Regions from separate parts of the Homo sapiens genome. Here all the other regions are linked to region 2. Evidence: promoter capture Hi-C in 16 types of primary human blood cells and fetal thymus (Javierre and others, 2016). All regions are on one chromosome and are shown on one strand. Each heading gives the region's core, a stretch centred on a gene start or on the middle of the fragment in contact. The rest is flanking DNA. Distances are from core to core; before and after follow the strand shown. Region 1 overlaps LONP2 (lon peptidase 2, peroxisomal). Region 2 holds the start of DNAJA2 (DnaJ heat shock protein family (Hsp40) member A2). Region 3 overlaps LONP2 (lon peptidase 2, peroxisomal). Region 4 overlaps N4BP1 (NEDD4 binding protein 1). Region 5 overlaps LONP2 (lon peptidase 2, peroxisomal). Region 6 overlaps LOC105371240 (a long non-coding RNA gene). Region 7 has its middle 1.9 kb from the start of SIAH1.

Evidence for each region. Contacts are between HindIII fragments. The CHiCAGO score rates a contact against its expected background, and 5 or more counts as called.
Region 1: a fragment that was not itself captured here is called in contact with the fragment with the promoter of DNAJA2 in region 2 in 2 of 17 cell types (total CD8 T cells and naive CD8 T cells); the score reaches 5.6 in total CD8 T cells.
Region 3: a contact is called between a fragment that was not itself captured here and the fragment with the promoter of DNAJA2 in region 2, in 1 of 17 cell types (naive CD8 T cells). The highest score is 7.8, in naive CD8 T cells.
Region 4: a contact is called between a fragment that was not itself captured here and the fragment with the promoter of DNAJA2 in region 2, in 1 of 17 cell types (activated CD4 T cells). The highest score is 8.7, in activated CD4 T cells.
Region 5: a contact is called between a fragment that was not itself captured here and the fragment with the promoter of DNAJA2 in region 2, in 2 of 17 cell types (naive CD8 T cells and non-activated CD4 T cells). The highest score is 6.5, in naive CD8 T cells.
Region 6: a contact is called between a fragment that was not itself captured here and the fragment with the promoter of DNAJA2 in region 2, in 1 of 17 cell types (fetal thymus). The highest score is 7.1, in fetal thymus.
Region 7: a contact is called between a fragment that was not itself captured here and the fragment with the promoter of DNAJA2 in region 2, in 5 of 17 cell types (fetal thymus, total CD8 T cells, naive CD8 T cells and 2 more). The highest score is 16.5, in fetal thymus.

Annotation. Positions count from the first base shown.
Region 1 is chr16:48,354,613-48,357,833 of GRCh38, reverse strand. It overlaps LONP2 (lon peptidase 2, peroxisomal), which reads right to left. Exons shown (of 15, transcript NM_031490.5): 15 at 485-3,221. Among named protein-coding and RNA genes, the nearest start is that of SIAH1, 29 kb to the left of the region's middle. The HindIII fragment of the contact is 833 bases long and covers 1,060-1,892 here.
Region 2 is chr16:46,972,018-46,974,935 of GRCh38, reverse strand. DNAJA2 (DnaJ heat shock protein family (Hsp40) member A2) reads left to right here and starts at 1,262. Exons shown (of 9, transcript NM_005880.4): 1 at 1,262-1,441. The coding sequence starts at 1,364. DNAJA2-DT (DNAJA2 divergent transcript) reads right to left here and starts at 1,164. Exons shown (of 2, transcript NR_186372.1): 1 at 811-1,164. RefSeq lists enhancers at 851-940, 1,001-1,070 and silencers at 1,501-1,550, 1,581-1,660, 1,811-1,860, 1,891-1,960, 2,311-2,390. The HindIII fragment of the contact is 5,496 bases long and covers 1-2,610 here.
Region 3 is chr16:48,326,617-48,329,822 of GRCh38, reverse strand. The region is part of intron 11 of LONP2 (lon peptidase 2, peroxisomal); the gene reads right to left. Among named protein-coding and RNA genes, the nearest start is that of SIAH1, 57 kb to the left of the region's middle. The HindIII fragment of the contact is 4,980 bases long and covers 1-3,206 here.
Region 4 is chr16:48,603,017-48,606,066 of GRCh38, reverse strand. All of the region lies in intron 1 of N4BP1 (NEDD4 binding protein 1), which reads left to right. Among named protein-coding and RNA genes, the nearest start is that of N4BP1, 5.6 kb to the left of the region's middle. The HindIII fragment of the contact is 6,554 bases long and covers 1-3,050 here.
Region 5 is chr16:48,302,900-48,305,964 of GRCh38, reverse strand. It overlaps LONP2 (lon peptidase 2, peroxisomal), which reads right to left. Exons shown (of 15, transcript NM_031490.5): 11 at 2,660-2,793. Among named protein-coding and RNA genes, the nearest start is that of ABCC11, 57 kb to the right of the region's middle. The HindIII fragment of the contact is 4,768 bases long and covers 1-3,065 here.
Region 6 is chr16:48,623,457-48,626,754 of GRCh38, reverse strand. It overlaps LOC105371240 (a long non-coding RNA gene), which reads right to left. Exons shown (of 4, transcript NR_188470.1): 1 at 3,152-3,298. Among named protein-coding and RNA genes, the nearest start is that of N4BP1, 15 kb to the right of the region's middle. The HindIII fragment of the contact is 3,519 bases long and covers 1-3,099 here.
Region 7 is chr16:48,385,798-48,388,830 of GRCh38, reverse strand. It overlaps a transcript of SIAH1 not described here. Among named protein-coding and RNA genes, the nearest start is that of SIAH1, 1.9 kb to the right of the region's middle. RefSeq lists a silencer at 2,990-3,033. The HindIII fragment of the contact is 2,583 bases long and covers 249-2,831 here.

The DNA of each region.
Region 1 (3,221 bases), core at 227-2,726, 1.4 Mb before region 2:
GATTTTAAGACCCACCTTTCTGCAAACTTCAAACGTATGTAAGTGGCTGTAGATAGCTTAGCTCACCAAAATAATAGTGTGCTGCCTCCAACCCCCAAAAGCTCTTCATATTTAGAAACATCTGCAGTGATTCTACTAATGGTAGAATTCTATTTCATTCACACTCCTGATTAGAAGAATTGGTAAGTAATCCAAATTAAGAAAATAATGGATCAAATCCAACATACCTGGGGGGTCAGTCTGTGACTGCTGCATTAGAATGGACATAAAAGTAATGTCGAAACTCGACAGGGTGAATAGTGTGTGTGAACTACCACGCAGGACTGTGGTATTTGTGTAGGTTAAACATGAAAGGTACAGATAGAGTGTTACAGAGACCCGGAGTTTGAAGCTTTGTCATTCCCCTCCCCACTCATCCAGTGTGCATGTTCAAAGCACAAAGGAGTATTTGGTAGTTTACTGCTTATGATCCTAACCTGAATTTACCAAAAGAAACGTACGTTTATCTAAAAATGGCACCATCCAAACAAAATTCCTTATCAAGCATCTACTAAGATTTGGTGGCAAACAGTGTGGGTTGTAGATTCTAACTGCCTGGGTTGACTTCTGACTCTGTATCTACCAGTTTTTATTTAAATACCTTCTCTGCCTGGTCCCTCCTCCACAAAAGGGTATGATGTCCACTGCGTAAGGGAATGAGGAAGGCTAGATGTGCTATAAAGTGCTTATTATGCCTGACTTGATACCCCAGTGTCTTGCTGAACCAAATATTTTCGCTATCCTTATATAGCTCTAGAAACTTGACAAAGAAATACACTTTATTATCATAGATGTAATTTTCTTAGGCCTTTCTGAATTCTGAAAATAATAACAGGTTTACAGATATAAATAATGGAGCAAAAGGACACCTGGTTTTGGGGTCACATTTTGACAGGCTTGCACTGTCATGTCAGGATGAGGATTTAGCCTCAAGAGTTTGTATTGCCTAGAAATGTGCTGACAGTGTCATTAAGTACAAACTACAGTATTTCCAAAGAAATGAATTTTCATGACAAAGCTTTTCCTAAAATTGTTTTAGAAGTCCTTTTGCTGTAACTTTTAAAACATCTCAATGACCACTCACCATATTTGCCTGTTGTCTATTCAGACCTTTTTGATATTTCCTTCCTCTTTCAGCATTTTTGTTTTTTAAGTGCAGTTTTCATTGTGGTATCCACCAAATGTTTGTAAAACAAACAAAAAAAATGAGCATTAGTGTTGGACCATAAATCATCAAATTGGATAATGACTAACTGTAGTCTTTTTTTTTTTTTTTTTTTTTAGCTGCTGGATACAATTTTCATGGCAATAGGAACTGAAGTACTTCAAATAATGTGAGCTTAAACATGTTACTTCATTGAAACAACCAAAACTACTTGATGTTTACATCTAAAATCCTGGTTAAAATAAATTTTAGATTTGGAAAGGGAATTGGCAAAACTAACATTCTTTGTAGCAAAATGTCCCTTAGTAATAGTCAAGTTGACCTCATTTCAGTAGTTCATAAAGGAAAATCCAAAGCCCTCAGCAGTGAATTACCTGGCCACATAGCTGATTTTGGTCACTGTGAATGCAGACCAATCACCTAGTACTGGAAGCTCACAGTGGTAGACATCACTATCACAGTACTTTACGGTCATGGATTTCTCGTGAACTATTTCAGGAACAATCACAAAGATGACATTCTTCACTGTATTTGCATTTGTAACCACCAAGCAAGTAAGGATCTCTGCCCCAGATGCATGGTTTGAGGTAAGGTTCACAGGGACCACTAAAGGGGCAGAGCCAAGTAAAAACATGGATGTCTCCAGTGGACAGTGTAGGATTTCTTGATAAGCAAAGCACCTAAAGCTTTTAGTTTTAATACTTGAGAAGTTTTAAAAACCCATGCATAAAACGTGGAATACCGGTAAAATACACATATCCCTAAGTCTAGTTTAAACTAAAATTTCTAGAGTTAATAATTTTCAATAAAAAAATCCAGCTTATTTTGATACAAGGGGTCTTTGGGTAACATCTTAAAAATCAATGCTAGAAAATGCTCAACATCACTAGTCATTAGGGACATAGAATCAAAATACGTCACACCCATTTGGAGGGCTATTATAAAAAACCCAGAAAATGAGTGCTGGCAAGGATGTGGAGAAACTGGAACATTTGTGCATTGCTGGAAGGAATGTCAAATGGTGCAGCTGCGGTGGAAAAGTTTGGCAGTTCTCAAAAAGTTAAACAGAATTATCCTGTTGTCTTAGTCATTTGTGTTAACCGTAACAGAATACCTGAGACTGGGTAATTTAAAAGTACGAATTTATTTCTCATAGTTGTGAAGACTGAGAAGCCCACGATCAGCGTGCTGGCAGACTGGTATCATCTATTGAGGGCCCAGTCTCAGCTTCTAGGACGGGGCCTGTTGCTGTGTCCTCATATGGTGGAAGGGAATCGAAGGGCAAAAAGGAGGTAATTGGTTCCCTTGAGCCCCTTTATAAAGGCACTAAATCCATTAATGAGGATGGAGCTCTCATGACATAATCACCTCCTAAAGCCTCACCTATCACGTTGGTGGTTGCTTCAACATACGAATTTGGTGGGGGGACATTCAGACCTTAGCATATGTGATCTAGTAGTTCTGCTCCTGGATATGTATCCCTAAAGGACCTAAGAAGGGACTTCAAGAGAGATGTGTACACCCATGTTCATAGCATTACTCATAATACCCAAGAGGGGGAAACAATCAGCAGATGAGTGGATAAACCAAATGCGGTCTATGGATATAGTGGTGTATTATTTGGCCATAAAAATTTCTGGTACTTGCTACCACATGGCTTTTTCCCAGGGAAAGTATTAGTTTTTGTTTGACAAAACACCTTGATAGGTCATGGTTCTGCAAGGCAGAGATGTGAAACAAAGAAAGCTAACTGTTGCAAATAATAAAAAGTTGGAGTTCCTTTGAGCTAAAGCTAAAGTGGCAAAGGAGGAAGAGGTTCATCCCTACCCTTCTGCACCCCATTATTTTGAAGAAAAAGAGTGGCCTGACCCTCCAGATCTTTCTTTTCTGGAGGACACTGGGCGAAAAGTAGTTGCCCCAGTGACTGTTCGAGCAGTTGATGGCTTGCTAAGTAAGAATGCTAAACACAAAAGGACAACTCTTGTTTGATCCCACTCATATGAAGGGAAATTCAGAA
Region 2 (2,918 bases), core at 13-2,512:
ACAGAGGGAGCAGGATTTCAGATGGGATTTGAGGAAAAGGGTTTAAGGACTATTAATGACTTATCACTGATTACTCTTAGGGTTTTCAAGCTAAATTTCAGAGTCCTTGTCATGGAATTCAGGCCCTCCACAACTAGGTCAAAGGGAACGCCAAGGAAGAAACATTATCCTGAGTGAGATGCTTATGCTGAAGTCTTTGCTATCAGTTCAGGTTCCAAGGGATCAGAAAACCTTACTTTTCTGTCTCCATAAACCGTAAATGGGTTGAAGGCAGGCACTTTTGTAACACTCCTCTCCCCGGACCAGGCCTCTGTACATCATAGCACTTGGTAGATGCACAGCATACTTTCTGAGCGAAACTAAAACGAATGTAAATCAAGTCACCTGGTGGCCAGACTTGCCTTACACCATCTAAACCTCTGGTGTTAGCTAATTTTAAAGCTATCAAGTAAGAGGCTTAAACACGTGGTCCAGATGCAACATGTGGACCTTGGTTTGGACCCGGATGCCACAAACCAATTGTAAAAGGACATGAGATCATCTGAAAAACCTAAATATGGACTGGGAATTAGATTAAGGAATTGTTAATTTCATTAGATGAGATTACATCGTTATGCCTTTAAAAGTTGTCTCTTAGATATTAAATATATACACTTAGGGTATTTATGAATGAAACGGTTTCCCTTAAAACACTAGAAATGTATGGTGGAGCCAATGAAACAGGTAAAAGGTAGCTAACTGCACTATGGGGAGTAATATACTGCTTCTGCTAAATGTTTCAGAATTCTCATAATATAAAACACAACATACACACACACGCGCCCCCCAGTTTTTTTCATCGTAAGCCCCGAGGGAGCCAGACCCAGAGGGTCCACCGACGTCCCGGATTCTAATAACGACATCTGCGCGCCAGGCGGGCCTCCTGCGGGAGCCGGGGCCCATTTTCTTTCGAAGCTAACGAAGCTGCTGCGCAGGCCTGTTAATTCCCTCAGCAGCCAGTGCGAGGTTAAACACGCGACCTCGCAACCATGGCTTTTGAGAGGAAGCTGAATTCCTGGGGTGCGCCGTGCACAGTTCTTCATTTCCTACGTTGGCCCTGCCCAGCCGCCTGGACCTGGAGGAAAACAGAGAACCTGGCCCACTCTTCAATACTTCGACCCCAGTGGCCGCGCCTCGGGCGCTCGGGGGCGGGCTCTGCACAGCGACGTCACGGCGCACCGTGCGCTGGGTCAAAGTTCAGCCCCGCCCCCGCTTCCCCCTCGCTGTCTCCCTCGGCCTGTGCCGCCGCCGACGCCGCTTGTGGGCCCGACTCCGCTCTGTCTGCTTCGCCACCTTCTCCCCGAGCACTGCCCGGCCGGCCGCCATGGCTAACGTGGCTGACACGAAGCTGTACGACATCCTGGGCGTCCCGCCCGGCGCCAGCGAGAACGAGCTGAAGAAGGTATCTGGGAGCGGGCCGGGCGGGTGTGAGGGGCGCGGGGCCTGCGCGGCCAGGGATGTCTTCTTCAGCCAGGCCGCGCTACTGGGCTGCCCGCGAGCCGGCGCCGGCCGTGACTGGCCCGGGCTGGGAGTCGGCGGCGGCGGCGGGACCGGCCTCGCCGCGAGCCGCGCACTCCGGCCTCGGCTGACCTTGGGGCCGCCGGCCCCGCCCGCCCGCAGATGCAGCAAATAAAACTCACTCCTGCGCAAACACGATGGGAGCCCTTCCTTCCTCCCTCCTTGAACGAGCGCCGGGGGCTGGTATCCCCCGGGAGGCAGCAGCTCGCCCGGTCCTTCGCGTCGAGGTCACCACCCCGGAAAAACAGGTTGGACCGAGGTGCTCAGCGCATCCCGGCCCCGAGAGAGAAGCTGTCCGCCCCGCGGCCGTCGGCCCCGGGTCTGGTGCTCCGCGGGGAGGAACGGCGGGGAGGTCGAGGCCGCCCCCACAGAGCGCCTCGGGCGGATGGGGTTGTTTCCTGGGTTCCGCGGCCGCCGGCTGCGGGAGCTCCTCCCTCTCTGCGTCCCTCGCCCATTGACCCGGAGGTAGCTGGGTCTGTGTTTGGATGCATTGTTCTTTGGGCAGGTAATGCTAATGTCCTGTACCTGCTTAGGAATAAGCCGTGGTCCCAGCCAAACGCCTGAGTGTACAGTAAACATAAATAGAAGGCCTTATTATTGCTATTTGCAATGCTGCGATATCTTTCATCTCAGGATTTCAAAGCACACGAGGCATTTAAGCCCCACAGCATCCTCACCAGGCTAAGAGCATCCAGATTTGTAAGCCGAGAAAAATGAGAATGCTCCTTAGGCAGTGAGAAGAGTACAGTGGACTTCCTGTTACCTTACCGGAAATGCTAGTCTGTATTATATAATTCACGAGCCTCCGTGAATGAAGATTTAAGTGCTTTAGGACCCAAACACCTCGTTGAGAGTGTGTGCAACTTCTCTACCACCGAAGTTGCCACCACGACCCCAGTTAACCACCACGTGCAAATAAAACACCAAAAGACGCTAACTAGGACCACCTTTACTTTTTCATGATGTTACAGTTAGAAGGAAGGCGTGAGCCATCGGGAGCAGGAATTGTGACTTTAGCTTGATTTATAGTAATGTTTTGCAGTCCGCAAAGCTTAACAGTCATTTATCTCGAATTTATTAGGGTCGTCTTGGTCTGGTTACTTGGCCATCAAAGACACTTGACAATAGGGAAAATATGGATAATGTTTGAACGTTTTGTTTTTCCCTGTGGCATTGCTTCATTGTTTTATCTGGTTTTCACGTCACTGTAACCTGTTTTCAAGTATAGCTGCTGTCTACTTGGTTATATTACATTAGTAAACAGTATCGCGAGAAAGTGCCGAAGAATCCCTACGAATAGAAAATATTTTTGAAAGGTTATAACTCTAGAACATTACTTCTCAGAAAAGTGGATATTAAGT
Region 3 (3,206 bases), core at 1-2,500, 1.4 Mb before region 2:
ACTGGTAAAATACTACAGTCACTAAAAATGGTTTCCTAAGTGTTTTCAAGTAATGTGAGAAAATTCTTTCAAAACAACGTTAAACTGAGGAAAGGGGAGGATATAACATTTCACACAGGGTGATTTTTACATACACAGTAGTCACCCCTTCTCCACAGGCGATACATTTCCAGACCCACGGTGGATACCTGAAATGCAGGATGGTTCAGAACCCTATATATACCATTTTTTCCCTATAGATATGTACTTATGATCATGTTTAATTTATAAATTAAGCAAAGTAAGAGATTTACAACAATACTAATAAAATAAACCCAGAATGCCAGCATCACTGCTCTTGGCTTTGGGTCCATTATTAAGTAAAGGAAGGGTTACTTGAACACAAACACCCTGAAACCAAGACAGTTGATCTGGTAAGTGAGATGGCTGCTGAGTGGCTAAAGGGGCGGGAGTCATACAGCATGGATATGCTGGACAAAGAGAGGCTTCCTGTCCAGGGTCACACAGAGCAGGATGGCTCGACATTTCATCACACTGCCCAGAATAGTGCACAATTTAAAACTTACGAGTGGATTATTTCTAGAATTTTCCAGTTAATATTTTTGGACGATGGTTGACCACAGGTAACTAAAACTGCAGAAAGTGAAGCTGCAGGTGAGGGGGAAGCTACAGTGTCTTTATCATATGAATGAAATGATATAGTCCAAAATGGTAAAAGAGTTATGCCCTGAGTTATGAGATTAACATTACATGAGATATTAAAAATAAATCATTGTCTCCAGTCCTGACTCAGATTACCACCTAGTGGCCTAGAACAAGGTGACTTTACCTCTTTGTATCTGGTTTTCTAATCAGCAAAACCAGAATTACAGTACTCTCAGAGAGCTGCTGGGAGAATTTGGTAATGGTCAAAAGCCTTAATATGTATAGATGAGAGATACTGAATTATATACTGGCTCCCGCTCCCCCCACCGCCCCTCCCCCCCTTTTTTTTTTGAGACAGAGGCTGGAGCGTAGTGGTGTGATCTCAGCTCACTGCAACCTCTGCCGTCTGTGTTCATGCGATTCTCATGCCTCAGCCTCCCAAGTAGCTGGGATTACAGGTGTGTACCACCACACCTGGCCAATTTTTTTTTTTTTTTTTTTTGAGACGGAGTCCCCGTGTCACCCAGGCTAGAGGGCAATGGTGTGATCTCGGCTCACTGCAACTTCCACCTCCTGGGTTCAAGTGATTCTCCTGCCTCAGCCTCCTGAGAAGCTGAGATTACAGGCACACGTCACCATGCCTGGCTAATTTTTGTATTTTTAGTAGAGACGGGGTTTCACCATGTTGGTCAGGCTAGTCTCGAACTCCTGATATCGTGATCCACCCGCCACGGCCTCTCAAAGTGCTGGGATTACAGGTGTGAGCCACTGCGCCCGGCCCAATTTTTGTATTTTTAGTAGAGACGGGGTTTCACCATGTTGGTCAGGCTAGTCTCGAACTCCTGATATCGTGATTCACCCGCCACAGCCTCTCAAAGTGCTGGGATTACAGGTGTGAACCACCGCGCCCGGCCCAATTTTTGTATTTTTAGTAGAGACGGGGTTTCACTATGTTGGCCAGGTTGGTCTTGAACTCCTGGCCTCAGGTCCTCCTGCCTTGGCCTCTCAAAGTGTTGGGATTACAGGAGTGAGCCACTGTACCTGGCCTTTTTTTCATTCTTAGTTTTCCTTTAGCAAATTCTCCCAGATCCTGATGGCTCCCTTTTTAGAGTAATATTTACTATACAGATTTCTATGACTCACATATTCTCACCCCAAACCCTTCAATTACAAGAAAACAAAGTGCTCTCTACAATCTCATTCTACCCAGCATCCCACAGACAGGGCTCTGACCACAATCACACAACGGTTGGGAATCACATACATTAAATATGCATAAGAAAAAAAGAAAAAGATACAAAGACTGAAGACTCTGCTCTATGCTATACTATATATCACTATTATATTTCATATAAGTGCTCCCTATTAAAATCTTCTTTACAAACTATTTTGAAGCATATTCTTAAAAGTAATAAAGTGAGGCTGGGCGTGGTGGTTCACACCTATAATCCCAGCACTTTGGGAGGCTGAGGCGGGCAGATCACCTGAGGTGAGGAGTTCGAGACCAGCCTGGCCAACATGGTGAAACCCCATCTCTAATGAAAACACAAAAATTAGCCGGACCTGGTGGCAGGTGCCTGTAATCCCAGCTACTTGAGAGGCTAACACATGAGAATCGCTTGAACCCGGGAAGTGGAGGTTGCAGTGAGCCGAGATCATGCCACTGCACTCCAACCTGGGCGACAACGTGAGATTCCATCCCAAAAAAACAAAACAAAACAAAAAAACTAAGTAATAAAGTGCTGTTAAACAGAGGTTGAAAAGGCCACAGAAATATAAAATGAGTAGAATAAGCTAGCTCTGCTTCATCCCACTTCGACTATTTTCCCACTTAAAAGAAATAAAATCGGTCTGAAAATGGGAGGGGGCTAGTGTTTTCTAGTTGATTTAATCTATGCAGAGGTATATCCCAGCTCTTCTTTACTAGGTATTATTGGCCTATTAATACCTTTAATAGGTATTATCTATGTCTGATTCAGAACATTGCCAAGATAGTTGGGGCATAACCACGGAGTTTCCCAGCATTAAAGCAGCAGAGATGCACACAGCACGGGGGCAGAACCAGCAATGCACTCACAGCATGGACTGTGGTGATGGCTGTGAGCCAAGTGAGAGTGAAATGCGGTGTACCCCCGAAGGGGGCTAAGCCATCCTCTAGAGCTGATGGAAGCACAGCTATTATGGAGGGAAGTCCTATAGGGACAGACTCCTCTGGGGAAGGACCAGGCTTTTCCTAAGCAAGCAGCTATCACTTGGACACAGTCAACTGTTCTTCTCTATTCATTTTCCCTCTGCCACAGGAAGATGATTTCAATGAAAACAGGCCCAATAGCCAAAGAACTGCTGTGGGAAGAGGGAGGAAAGGGAATTATTGAAAGGGGAAGTAAGGAGGAAGGATAAGGGGGTTGTAATAACTCAGGAAACTTCAGTAGCTCTCTGTTAAAAAATAAAAAAGTTCCTTGCTGTTTGAAAAAATCTTGAAGCAAAATGGTAGTTCTCGGTAGCTCTTGGCCAGTGATCCAACCAATGGCAAGTAGCAGGGAGGCCAGAAACATAAAAAG
Region 4 (3,050 bases), core at 390-2,889, 1.6 Mb before region 2:
AGGGGAGACAGACATGGGGAAGATACAGTAAAGTGTGATACATACAACAACTGCAATGTGTGCAAGGTGTTTCTGTAACACAGGAATGGAAGGGTTGCTCTGCCAGCCGGTTTCCTAGGTAGCAGGGAGGTCCTGGCAGAGGGAAGAAGCTGTGTGCAATCACAGGGGCATGGAAGAGGGCAGTTGCATCACAGATTCCTCCAGTGGATCACAAAGTGCTTGGGGCCTGCTGAAGAACATGGATTTTACCTGCAAGTAGTCAGTGGAGAGTCGTGGAAGAGTTAGGGGGACATGAGAAATTTACATTTCCACAAATGCCTCAGTGTTTACACCTCTGGGCTGGGGCTGCTCAGTGTGGTCTGTTGCTGGTTTTCAATAGTAAGAGTACAGAAATTGAAAATAAGGGTTGAGTAACTTTTATGCAATTTGGCATTAATACAGGGGCTAGAGAGGCAATGTCTAAGAGTGAGAAGTCCTTATAAGAGGGCATTGTCCATAGGGGGCCCAGAGAGAGGGGAAAGAAGTCAGTGCTGGAAGACATCTTGGGAGCAAAGGATTGTGAGGATTGAATTTCAGAGACAAAAGGGAGGTACTGGCTAGCTGTTGCCTCATTCGCAAATAGAGATTAAAGTGAAGAAGCAGAGGTGGGACCCTCCCTGTGAAGCAGTGGTGGAAAGGGATGAGGTTGAGGGGATCTCAGCCGTGGGGGTGAGACGAGTTAGAATTCTTCTTTTAGGCCGGGCGCAGTGGCTCACGCCTGTGTAATCCCAACACTTTGGGATGCCGAGTGGTCTGATCACCTGAGGTCGGGAGTTCGAGACCAGCCCACCAACATGGAGAAACCCTGTCTCTACTAAAATTACAAAATTAGCCAGGTGGGGTGGCGCATGCATGTAATCCCAGCTACTCAGGAGGCTGAGGCAGGAGAATTGCTTGAACCAGGGAAGCGGAGGTTGCGGTGAACCAAGATCACGCTATTGCACTCCAGCCTGGGCAACGAGAGCAAAACTCTGTCTTGAGAAAAAAAAAAAAAGAACCCTTCTTTTAGATCAAAGAACCACAAACTCAGAATGCTTCCTGGGACCAGGCAGGGAACCTGTGTAGGGAAGTGGGGTGGTCGGGAAGAGGGACTGTGGTGAATGAAGCCGTGTGGCCCTTTTGGAGAGGGCAGCTTCCCATGCGTATCGCATTAGTCAGTTACATGGTAGGGCTCAGTGATGTCCAGTCTTATTATCTAAGAGAAGCAAGGAATCCAGATTTAATTATATAAAATATTGTATTTAAGTGGTCACTAATTTACATTTTAAAAATCATACACATCGAATTCATCGAATTATATGAATAAAATATTTTTAAACTACATATTTTAAAAAAACAGTTATATGTGCTAAACAAAACATGTCAGTGGACCTGAGCTTTGTTTCGTTTTGTTTTAATTTAGTTTTTGTTTTTGTTTTTTTTTTTACCTTTTTTTGTTTTTTTTTGTTTGTTTGTTTTGTTTTTTTGACCTGAGCTTTGGACTGCCTTTTTGAGACAGGGTCCCTAGGTTGGAGTGCAGTGGTATGATCTCAGCTTACTGAAACCTCTGCCTCCCAGGCTCAAGCGATCCTCTTGGCCTCCTGAGTAGCTGGGACTACAGGCATGTGCCACCATGCCCATGGTGTATTTTTGTATTTTTGGTAGAGATGGCATCTCACTATGCTGCCCTGGCTAATCTTGAATTCCCGAGCTCAAATGATCCTCCCACCTCAGCATCCCAAAGTGCTAGGATTACAGGCATGAGCCACCATGCCTAGCCCATATGTTTCTAATACTTGAAGAGGGCATTTGAAGGCCCCAGTGGCGTACAGTACAGTCTCAGTGCTAGTTCATCCCCAGAGGGAGCGCAAGAGCTCCAAAATAGTGGGATGTGTTAGGTGCAGTGGAACTGCTGCAGACTGAAAACTTAAGAACTTAAAAGGACTGGGATGAAGTAAGGGCCAAGGAAGGTTAGATAGTATGAACTTACAGTGTCACTTGAGCCAGAAACTCTCAAGTAGGTAATGTTTTCCTCCACTCAAGAGGTTTGTGAAGCCAGGACACAAGGATTGGAGGTAAGGGGGTCTGAAGTGCAATAGAGCAAGGCACAGTGGGGCTTAGGAAATATTTCTGAAGAGGTCAGCCTTGTTCAAGCTAGGACAGGGAAACAGATGAGAGCAGAAAGGGCGGAGTGAGCTGCAAGGATTAAGGGAGGGACAAGACCTTTGACCCTGTGCCCTCTGAAACCCAGGGGGTCATGTACACAGGGAAGTTAAGTATTGGAGAATTCTGGAGGTTGTAATCAGAGTAATTTCGGAGCTTAGAATCTTGGATGTAAAGGAATTCTGAGGATGACTCTGAGGGCCAAGGGGTGCCTCAGTAGTTGTGGGTGAGCTACAAGTGTTCCATACATCTTAGAGAAGTGAGAAAGTAGAGGAGATGGCAATGTGAAGTATCTGGAGCTAGTGCTATGCTGGGGTCACCAAAGTCCATAGCAAGAAACTGGGTGCTAACAGTCAGTGAAGCCTGGCTGGTTAACAAATAAAAGAAGTAATTGGAAGTAAATGGCACAGCTACTTGTTTGGCGTCTCCATGAACCTTTAAGGTGTGGAGTTCACTGACCACAGCTGCCCATCAGTTGATGCTTAGCTTCAGGCATTACTTGATGGCAGTGAGTAGCCACCGAGAGGCCTAGCCAGTGCCCTAAACAGTACCAGCCTGGAGGACTTCAAGCAGAGTCCTGGGAAGGACTACTCAGTCTTAAAACATTGACGTTACAGTGCACCCATGAAACTCAGGCAGGCTACCACCCAGTCCATTTTTAATTTGTGAGAAAAAGGGTGTTTAAGAACAGCTAGTAATTGACCTTTTCCCAGTTTTTACTTATGTATTTATGGAGTAAGGTAAGAATGAAAAAAAAATGTAATTAAAGTAGAAGTGGCCTATTACAGTACTGACTTCAGAGGGTTCAAGTTGACCAGGTACTGTTTTACTACCTTTTCAGTTAGAAGAGCCTGGTACCTGGTTTCATG
Region 5 (3,065 bases), core at 188-2,687, 1.3 Mb before region 2:
CCTAGGACATTTTTTTTAAATTCAAATTTCTATAAATGGTAGTCTGAGCATGCGTTTTTACTTCCTGTCTGAATAGTATTAAAATGACAATTAAGAAATAAAAAATATATAAACCCACAAGAACAAAAATAATGACAAAGAGGACATCAGCTGACAAGAGATGCTGACAAAATTTTGGGAAACAAAAAGTACATGGACAAAAAGTAACCAACACTTAACAGGCTAGAGAAAGCAGAAACCTCAACATTTGTGGGGCTAGAGATAGAGAACAACAAGTTGATGTGGGTCCTAAAAGTCTACAAAAGCTAAAGAATTCAAGGTAGCCCTGAAAGCATGGATGAAGAGTGGGACAAAAGGCAAAAGTTTTCTAGATTCTCCCAAGGCAGAGTAAAAATAAAAAATAAAAATAAAGCCAGGCGCAGTGGCTCACACCTGTAATCCCAGCACTTTGGCAGGCTAAGGTGGGCAGATCACCTGAGGTTAGCAGTTGAAGACCAGCCTGGCCAACATGGTGAAACCCTGTCTCTACTAAAAATACAAAAATTAGCCGGGCGTGGTGGCATCCGTCTACAGTACCAGCTACTGGGGAGGCTGAGGCAGGAGAATCACTTGAACCTCGGAGACGGAGGTTGCAGTGAGCCAAGATTGTGCCACCGCAGTCCAGCCTGGACGACAGAGCGAGACTCCATCTCAAAAAGTAAAATAAAATAAAAATAATAAAAATAAAGCACAAGTTTTAAAGTCTGGATAAAATACAATTAGAACTCACTACCTCTACTCCTACTCCACATAATGAAGGCACTGCCTCCCTCCAATCCAACAGAAGATAGGAGCTTCGCTCTCTGGAGAAAATGAACCAGTGAGGTTCCAGGCGTGGGGAGGCAGGGGTGAAGCACTGTACTGGCCACAGAAGGATTCTGTGAAAGCTGACTCTGATGCTACTGCTGTAAAATGCACTGTGTTCAGCGACTGATGGAAAAACAAGAAAGACATTTGGCTGTGTCTGTTCAACTGGGTCCACCATAAATTATGGTTCTTTAATCACAGTCATCCAACTCCTTTCTGGAAACAGCTATGGAAATGATAGAAAAATCTAATAAATCTCTTTACTATGAAAGAAATTGTCAATTCCCTACAACTCATGTTTGTTAAAGCAAGTTTTGGCAAACTGCATAACAGCATGATATGATGAACTGAGACCCCTTACAGTTTTGGGGCAAGAAATTAAAACATTTTATTTTATTTACTTATTTATTTTTTTGAGATGGAGTCTCGCTCCGTTGCCCAGATGGAGTGCAGTGGGCATGACCTTTGCTCACTGCAACCTCTGACTTTTGGGCTCAAGCGATTCTCCTGCCTCAACCTCCAGAGTAGCGGGGACTACAGGCGCCCAACACCACGCCTGGCTAATTTTTGTATTTTTAGTAGAGACGGGGTTTCACCGTGTTGGCTAGGCTGGTCTCAAACTCCTGACCTCAAGTCATCTGCCTGCCTCAACCTTCCAAAGTGCTGGGATCAAAGGCATGAGCCACTGTGCCTGGCCAGTTAAAACATTTTAAGTAGATACCAAAGGAACATCCACATTTGATTAATTCCAGTAATAGAACACCTTCACAATAATTTTTTAAAGAATAATTTAAATTACATTTAGTTGTTTATCCATAAAAGAAAATGTGTGAAAAATTATTACACATGGAGCTATTCCAGAGTACAAAGGTCTGTCCTTGCAGTACCTGAACAGCATGGATTGTCTTATGTTGTAAAAACTTTTTATGTTATAAATTATTTAAAGACTTAACTGTCTGGGTCAGAAAGAAATAAGATAACACCAGAACCCATACATAACGTACACCATCATTATACATCTGGAGAAAGTTACTGTGATGGTTAATAGTGAGTTTCAACTTTGGATTGAAGGATGCAAAGTATTGTTCCAGTGTGTCTGTGAGGATATAGTCAAAGGAGATTAACATTTGAGTCAGCGGACTAGGAGAGGCAGACCCACCCTCAATCTGAGTGGGCACCATCTAATCAGCTTCCAGCATGGCTAGAATAAAGCAGAGAAAAGAAGCTGGAAGGATCAGACTTGCTGAATCTTCTGGCCTTCAGCTTTCTCCCGTGCTGGATGCTTCTTGCCCTCGAATATTGGACTCGAAGTTCTTCAACTTTTGGACTCTTGAACGTACGCCAGTGGTTTGCTGGGGGCTCTTGGGGCTTCGGCCACAGACTGAAGGCTGTACTGTCGGCTTCCCTACTTTTGAGATTTTGGAACTTGGACTGGCTTCCTTGCTCCTCGGCCTGCAGATGGCCTATTGTGGGACTTCACCATGTGATTGTGTGAGTTAATACTCCTTAAACTCTTCTTCATATACACATCTATCCTATTAGTCTTGTCCCTCTAGTGAACCCTAATACAGTTCCTATATCCTCAAAGCATTCATATTATTATTCCAGTTAAAACTGTGCTATTTGTAAAAGACAATCCTCTGGATGAAATATGTTGAAACATTAAGGTATTACTTACTGGATGCATTTAACAGTGGAGTCATGTGTGCCACTGCTCCAAGGACTACCCAACACCTTCCCCTCCATACCCAACCTTCTTCTGTCACTCACTCCTAGCCACCAGGCCTGAGAATGCCAGAACAAGGTCACCAACCTTCTCTCTCAGTCACATCAGAACGGTCCAACTTGGCTTCCTTATGCTGTCCTTCTGCCACCTTCACGGCCACAGCTCGGCAAATGGCCCCAAGTTTTCTATCCAGAGAACGAACCCCTGCCTCTCTGGTATACCTGTCATCAAACAAAAATATTTTATTTTTGACTATATACCACTTAAAAAAATAGAGAGGTAATGTGATTAACATTTTTGGTAAAACAGTGTACATTTAAAAGTTCATTACCCTTTCTTGAGTACTAACTTTTCCACACTTAAAACTCCTCATTATTGTTATTTCTTCAATACTTTGATCTATTTTCAGCTACAACAATTTCCTTTATACAGATTATCTTGAATTATAATCCTACACTTAAAAATGAACCCTAGTTCTAGTTCAATTTACATT
Region 6 (3,298 bases), core at 91-2,590, 1.7 Mb before region 2:
GAGACAGGGTTTCACCATGTTGGCCAGGATGGTCTCGATCTCCTGACCTTGTGATCCACCCACCTCAGCCTCCCAAAGTACTAGGATTACAGGCGTGAGCCACCACGCCCAGCCCTGTGTTGCCTATTTAAGAAATCAATTTAAAAATCATTATGCCCTCATGCTACCTGACTTCAAACTATACTACAAGGCTACTGATACCAAAACAGATATATAGACCAATGGAACAGAACAGAGGCCTCAGAAATAACACCACACATCTACAGCCATCTAATCTTCAACAAACCTAACAAAAACAAGCAATGGGGAAAGGATTCCCTATTTAATAAATGGTGCTGGGAAAGCTGGCTAGCCATATGCAGAAAACTGAAACTGGACCCCTTCCTTACACCTTATACAAAAATTAACTCAAGATGGATTAAAGACTTACATGTAAAACCTAAAACCATAAAAACCCTAGAAGAAAACCTAGGCAATACCATTCAGGACATAGGCATGGGCAAAGACTTCATGACTAAAACACCAAAAGCAATGGCAACAAAAGCCAAAATTGACAAATGGGAGCTAATTAAACTAAAGAGCTTCTGCACAGCAAAAGAAACTATCATCAGAATGAACAGGTAACCTACAGCATGGGAGAAAATTTTTGCAATCTATCCATCTGACAAAGGTCTAATATCCATAATCTACAAGGAACTGAAACAAATTTACGAGAAAAAAACAAACAACCCCATTAAAAATTGGATGAAGGATATGAACAGACACTTCTCAAAAGAAGACATTTATGTGGCCAACAAACATATGAAAAAAAGCTCATCATCACTGGTCATTAGAGAAATGCAAATCAAAACCACAATGAGATACCATCTCACGCCAGTTAGAACGGTGATCATTAAAAAGTCAGGAAACAACAGATGCTGGAGAGGATGTGGAGAAATAGGAATGCTTTTACACTGTTGGTGACGGTGTAAATTAGCTCAACCATTGTGGAAGACAGTGTGGCGATTCCTCAAAGATCTAGAACCAGAAATACCATTTGACCCAGCAATCCCATTACCGGGTATACACCCAAAGGATTATAAATCATTCTGTCATAAAGACACATGCACACGTACGTTTATTGCAGCACTATTTACAATAGCAAAAACTTGGAACCAACCCAAATACCCATCAATGATAGACTGGATAAAGAAAACGTGGCATATATACAGCATGTAATACTATGCAGCCATAAAAAAGAGTGTGATCATGTCCTTTGTAGGGACATGGATAAAGTTGGAAACCATCATTCTCAGCAAACTAACACAGGAACAGAAAACCAAACACTGCATGTTCTCACTCATAAGTGAGAGTTGAACAATGAGAACACATGGACACAGGGAGGGGAACATCACACACCGGGGCGTGTCAGAGGATGGGGGGTAAGGGGAGGGAGAGTATTAGGACAAATACTTAATGCATGTGGGGCTTAAAACCTAGATGACAGGTTGATAGGTGCAGCAAACCACCATGGCACATGTATACCTGTGTAACAAACCTTCACGTTCTGCACATGTATCCCAGAACTTAAAGTCAAATTAGAAAAAAAAGAAGAAAAAAAAAATCATTATGCCCAAATACATCATTGATGTCTATTTCAGTTGAGTAAGGAGACTTGTTATACTGGGAAAGAGAAAAAAAGGGGAACATGTACCTTGAAATCATACTGAACTGAATTCAAATCCTGTCCCTGCCATTTACTGGCATTGGAAAAGTCAAGTAAGTTCTCTAAGTCTTTGTCTCCCCATTCTTTTTTTTTTTTTTTTTTTTCAAGACAGGGTCTTGCTCTGTCGCCCAGGCTGAATAGTGCAGTGGCTCAATCTCGGGTCACTGCAGCCTTGACCTCCCCGGCTCCAGCAATCTTCCCATCTCAGCCTCCCGAGTAACTGGGACTACAGGCATGCGCCATGTCTGGCTAGTTTTTGTACTTTTGGTAGAGACAAGGTTTCGCCATGTTACCCAGGCTTCCCCGTTCTTCAAAATGCACATGAAAATGATGTCCATCAAAGCATTCCCGGGAGCATTAAATGAGAATTCTTGTAAAGCAAGGAGCACATAATCTAGCCCAAGAGCGCTGCGAGTTCACAGTGACTCTTTATTTTGCACTGCACTTGGAAGAATGTTGGACAAAGCGCGTGCCTTGGAAGCCAGGGCAGGAGTTCTCAACCTATGGAGCACCAGGAACACCTGGGGTTCCTGTTAAAAATATCCATGCCAAGAGTCCCACCCCAAACCCACTGAGCCAGAATCTAATAGAGGTGGATGGAACCTAAGCTACTGCTACTGTATTTTAACACCCTGCCCCTCTTTTTTTTTTTTTTTTTTTTGAGGTCGAGTCTCGTTCTATCACCCAGGCTGGAGTGCAGTGGCGGATCTCTGCTCACCACAACCTCCGCCTCCCGGGTTCAAGCGATTCTCTTTCCTCAGTCTCCCGGGTAGCTGGGACTACAGGCACGCGCCACCATGCCCTGCTAATTTTTGTATTTTTAGTAGAGACGGGGTTTCACTATGTTGGCCAGGCTGGTCTCGAACTCCTGACCTCGTGATCCGCGCCCCCCCCCCCCCCCGCCCAAGGCCTCCCAAAGTGCGGGGATTACAGGCGTGAGCCACCGCTCCCAGCCCACCCTACCCCTTTAATTCGGGCACATCAAAGCTGAGAACAGCTAGATGGAGATGCCCTGTGTCCTTCGGTGTCACTTCTGGGCCTCCGGAGGTGGCAGGCCCAGGCAGACTGACGTGCTAAGGTTGTCGTTCTAGATGCTGAGAAGTTCTGGAGTCATCACCAGACAGTGTTAAGAAAGAGAGCTTTGGGGAGTAATTTCCCTCATGTGACCTGAGGGCGGGGGTAGGGATGGAGGAAGTCGCCCTCCCCGCTCTGACATCTGATCACCTTCTGTCCACTTGAAGCAGCAAAAAGAGGGTGCAAAGTCCCCGTTGCATTTTACTGAGCTTCTGATGCACTCCCCCACCTCCCCAGCTGCTCTCTCCACATTCGAGGAAGCAGCGCGGGTAGCAGCTGACCCAGTCGCCCCTGGTTGCCTGGAAGTGCCCTTCCAAGCTTTTTTGTCAGAGAGAAAAAACAAAAGCCAAGCTCGGGGCTGTGGGTGCTTACCAACTTTCTTTCGGTTCCCTCCGAAATCCCTCCCATTTGTGGGAGGCGTTTTCTGCCAGTCACCCACGTCCATTTGGTTTGCATCCCAATTCGGCCTTGCCACCGGCTCCCAGAAGCTCTGCGTGCTGCGGGTGGCCCCGGCGTCTA
Region 7 (3,033 bases), core at 291-2,790, 1.4 Mb before region 2:
AACTCATTTCCCAACCACTTGGGCTTTTGGGAACTTCCTTCAGCTACTTCCTGTTTCATTCTTGGATGCTCATGTTGTGTCTCTAACTTCTCCACCATGTCCAGGAAAATTTGTTTGGGATACTGTTTAACACATTCACCAACCTCAGACAGTGACTGGCAACAGGTGTGTCTGATAAAGAAAACATTGTTTCTGCTCTGCTGTAGGCATGTCTGACAAGTTGGGGACCTGCTTTCCTTTGCAAAGCTTATAGGAGTCTATTTGGGAGGGAGGAACCGCCTTCCAGTTTCCAGGCTGAAAAAGATTCTGTTTCGCTACCAGCAGAGCCAGGCTTGGAAGGGAATGCTAATATGTTTCCAGACCTATCCACCTAAGCTGAATGACAAATGGGTATCAGTGGTTTAATGTAAGAGGAGATAGCTATAGTTTCCTGGGCAAGAGACATCTGTGATTGCCTGGAAACAAACACAGCCCATCGGTGATTCAATAGATGGGTTTGGTCTTGTGAACTGGTCTATTGTAAAATAACTATATTGACATGAAGACACTTGGAAATCATCTGTTCAGTCTTAACTAGTTTAGCCAACTTTGACAGCATTATCTGAGAGGCTGAGGCACAAGAATCGCTTGAACCCAGGAGATGGAGGTTGCAGTGAGCCGAGATTACAAAATAAATAAATAAATAAATATCAATTTAATATAAATTCATAGCAAAACCCCCAAATAAAGATACTCTCATCAGTGCCTGTTTTATTTATTCATTTATTTTTATGTTTTTAGAGATGGAGTGTCCCTCTGTCACCCAGATGGGAGTGCAGGGGCACAATCATAGCTCACTATGGCCTCAAATTCCCAGGTTCAAGCAATCCTCTCATTTTGGCCTCCTGATTAGATGAGATTACAGGCGCACACCACCCTGCCGGGCTAATTTTTAAACTTTTTATAGGGACGGGGTCTTGCTATGTTCTTAGGTTGGTCTGGAACTTCTGGGCCTCAAGCGATCCTCTTGCCTTGGCCTCCCAAAGTGCTGGGATTACAGGTGTGAGCCACCGTGCCTGGCCAGTGCCTGTTTTATTCATAAGAGGAAAGTAATTTACATCACTGGTACCTTAACTACGGGCCAGATGCAGGACCAGAGCGTTATGTTCCATTGCAATAGATGGAATTACCATTTGATGTGATTTGAGGGGACCAGGAAGGCTCCCTATCCAGATGTGGCCTGAAAATATTTGTCACCGTTACTGAAATCCCATCAATTGGAGGATTATTTGGATAGGCTTTACAGTTTACAAAATGCTTTTCTATGGATAAACTGTCAAGGAAGCAGAGTCAACTCCCTGTTCAGAAAAGGTGCTTAGTTACCCCCACAGTGGAGCTATTTTCTTTCAAATGGAAGGTACATTTTTTTGAGAGGGGGAGTAAATTAAATTTATAATGGTGATGTTTATGTCCCACCCATAGCTACCACCCAGAATTAACCAAATCAGATTGAGCCCCGCCCAAATCTAGGTAGGAATTCTCAGAGATGGAATTAACCCGATTAAATTTGTTTTGTATAAAAGGGAAGTGGGGAAAGTAAGAAGTAACTTGGACTCTTCTAGAGGAGAGCAGGCACAAACTAAGCCAAGAAAAGCACGTTTGAGAATTCCAGAGGCAGAAGTTGCTTCTGGGTGCCTGACGTCAACGATCCAGCACTTCAAGACTGGTGTGCGGCATCCTCAGGGGACACTGTGTCCTGGGCACCCCTGCAGTTTAAGAGAATCCACTAGTTTATAAGGTAAGTCCTCGACTGTCAGCAGTGGGCCAGAGACAGACTGTTATTTTCAGATGGACAAATGCTGTTGGGTAGAGGAAGGGATGCGGGATAAGGAGGACAAAATCTGACTTTGGCAAAGCCGGGTGTTTAGAACTTTAATCGCCACGTTGGCAAGTTCTCTCTTAGTCCGTATCCATTTCACTGCTTGCAGAGCGGCCCAGGGGTTCTGGGGGCGAGAAACACATCTCACCCCAGAGCTGCTCCTCGCCCAGGACAGAACTCCTCTGCCCTTCACGACCAGGTCAAGGCCACATGGCTATGCCAAGCACATAGTCTGTAAAAATGGAAAATTTACCTCTAAACTGAAGTGAACCGAACTCTATTGACCTTCCCGTGTACTGAGGAGCTATAACTTCTCCCCAAAAATGTGAAAGTAAAATTGCAGTTTAAATCATGTAATTAGGAATACTGTAAACTAGTGTTTTGCACATATAAACTTTATCATACACTGGGAATTTGTACATACGTGCCCGGTATGGGATTTTTCTATTTTTATTTTTATTTTTTTGAGACAGAGTCTCGCTCTGTTGTCCAGGCTGGAGTGCAATGGCCTGATCTCTGCCTCACTGCAACCTCTGCCTCCCGGGTTCAAGCGATTCTCCTGCCTCAGCCTCCGAGTAGCTGGGACTACAGGCGTGCACCACCACGCCCGGCTAATTTTTGTATTTTTAGTAGAGATAGGGTTTCACCATGTTGGCCAGGCTACTCTCGAACTCCTGACCTCAGGTAATCCATCGGCCTCGGCCTCCCTAAGTGCTGGGATTACAGGCGTGAGCCACCGCGTCCGGACGGAATACCATTTTAATAGATCTTACATGGAATTCCAGTTAGGGCTTGTAAATGTCTCAGATGCTTGCTTCTGCTCATAGCACCCATCAAAGAATTGCAAGTGATGTTTTCCTTTTATTATTTCAAGAAGTGGAATGCAGAGTCCCTAATTAGGGACTTTCCAGATGAGCATGGACACAGGAAAACGCGTGCTTCCCCATTACCCACTTTTCAGCTGAAACAAGCTTTTGAAGCTCGTCCCGCTGTTGCTGAGGAGCGGCTCAACCTCGGGAGAGGCTGGGACTCTCTTTAGGGGTGGGGTCCCGGTCGGCGGGCAGGGCAGCCGCTTTTTCTTTGGGACTGAGTGGAGTTGGGAAGGATCCGTGGAGGCGCTGGGCTAAATCAGCAGACAAAACAAGGGGGAGGGCACAAGGCCGCGGCGGCGGCCA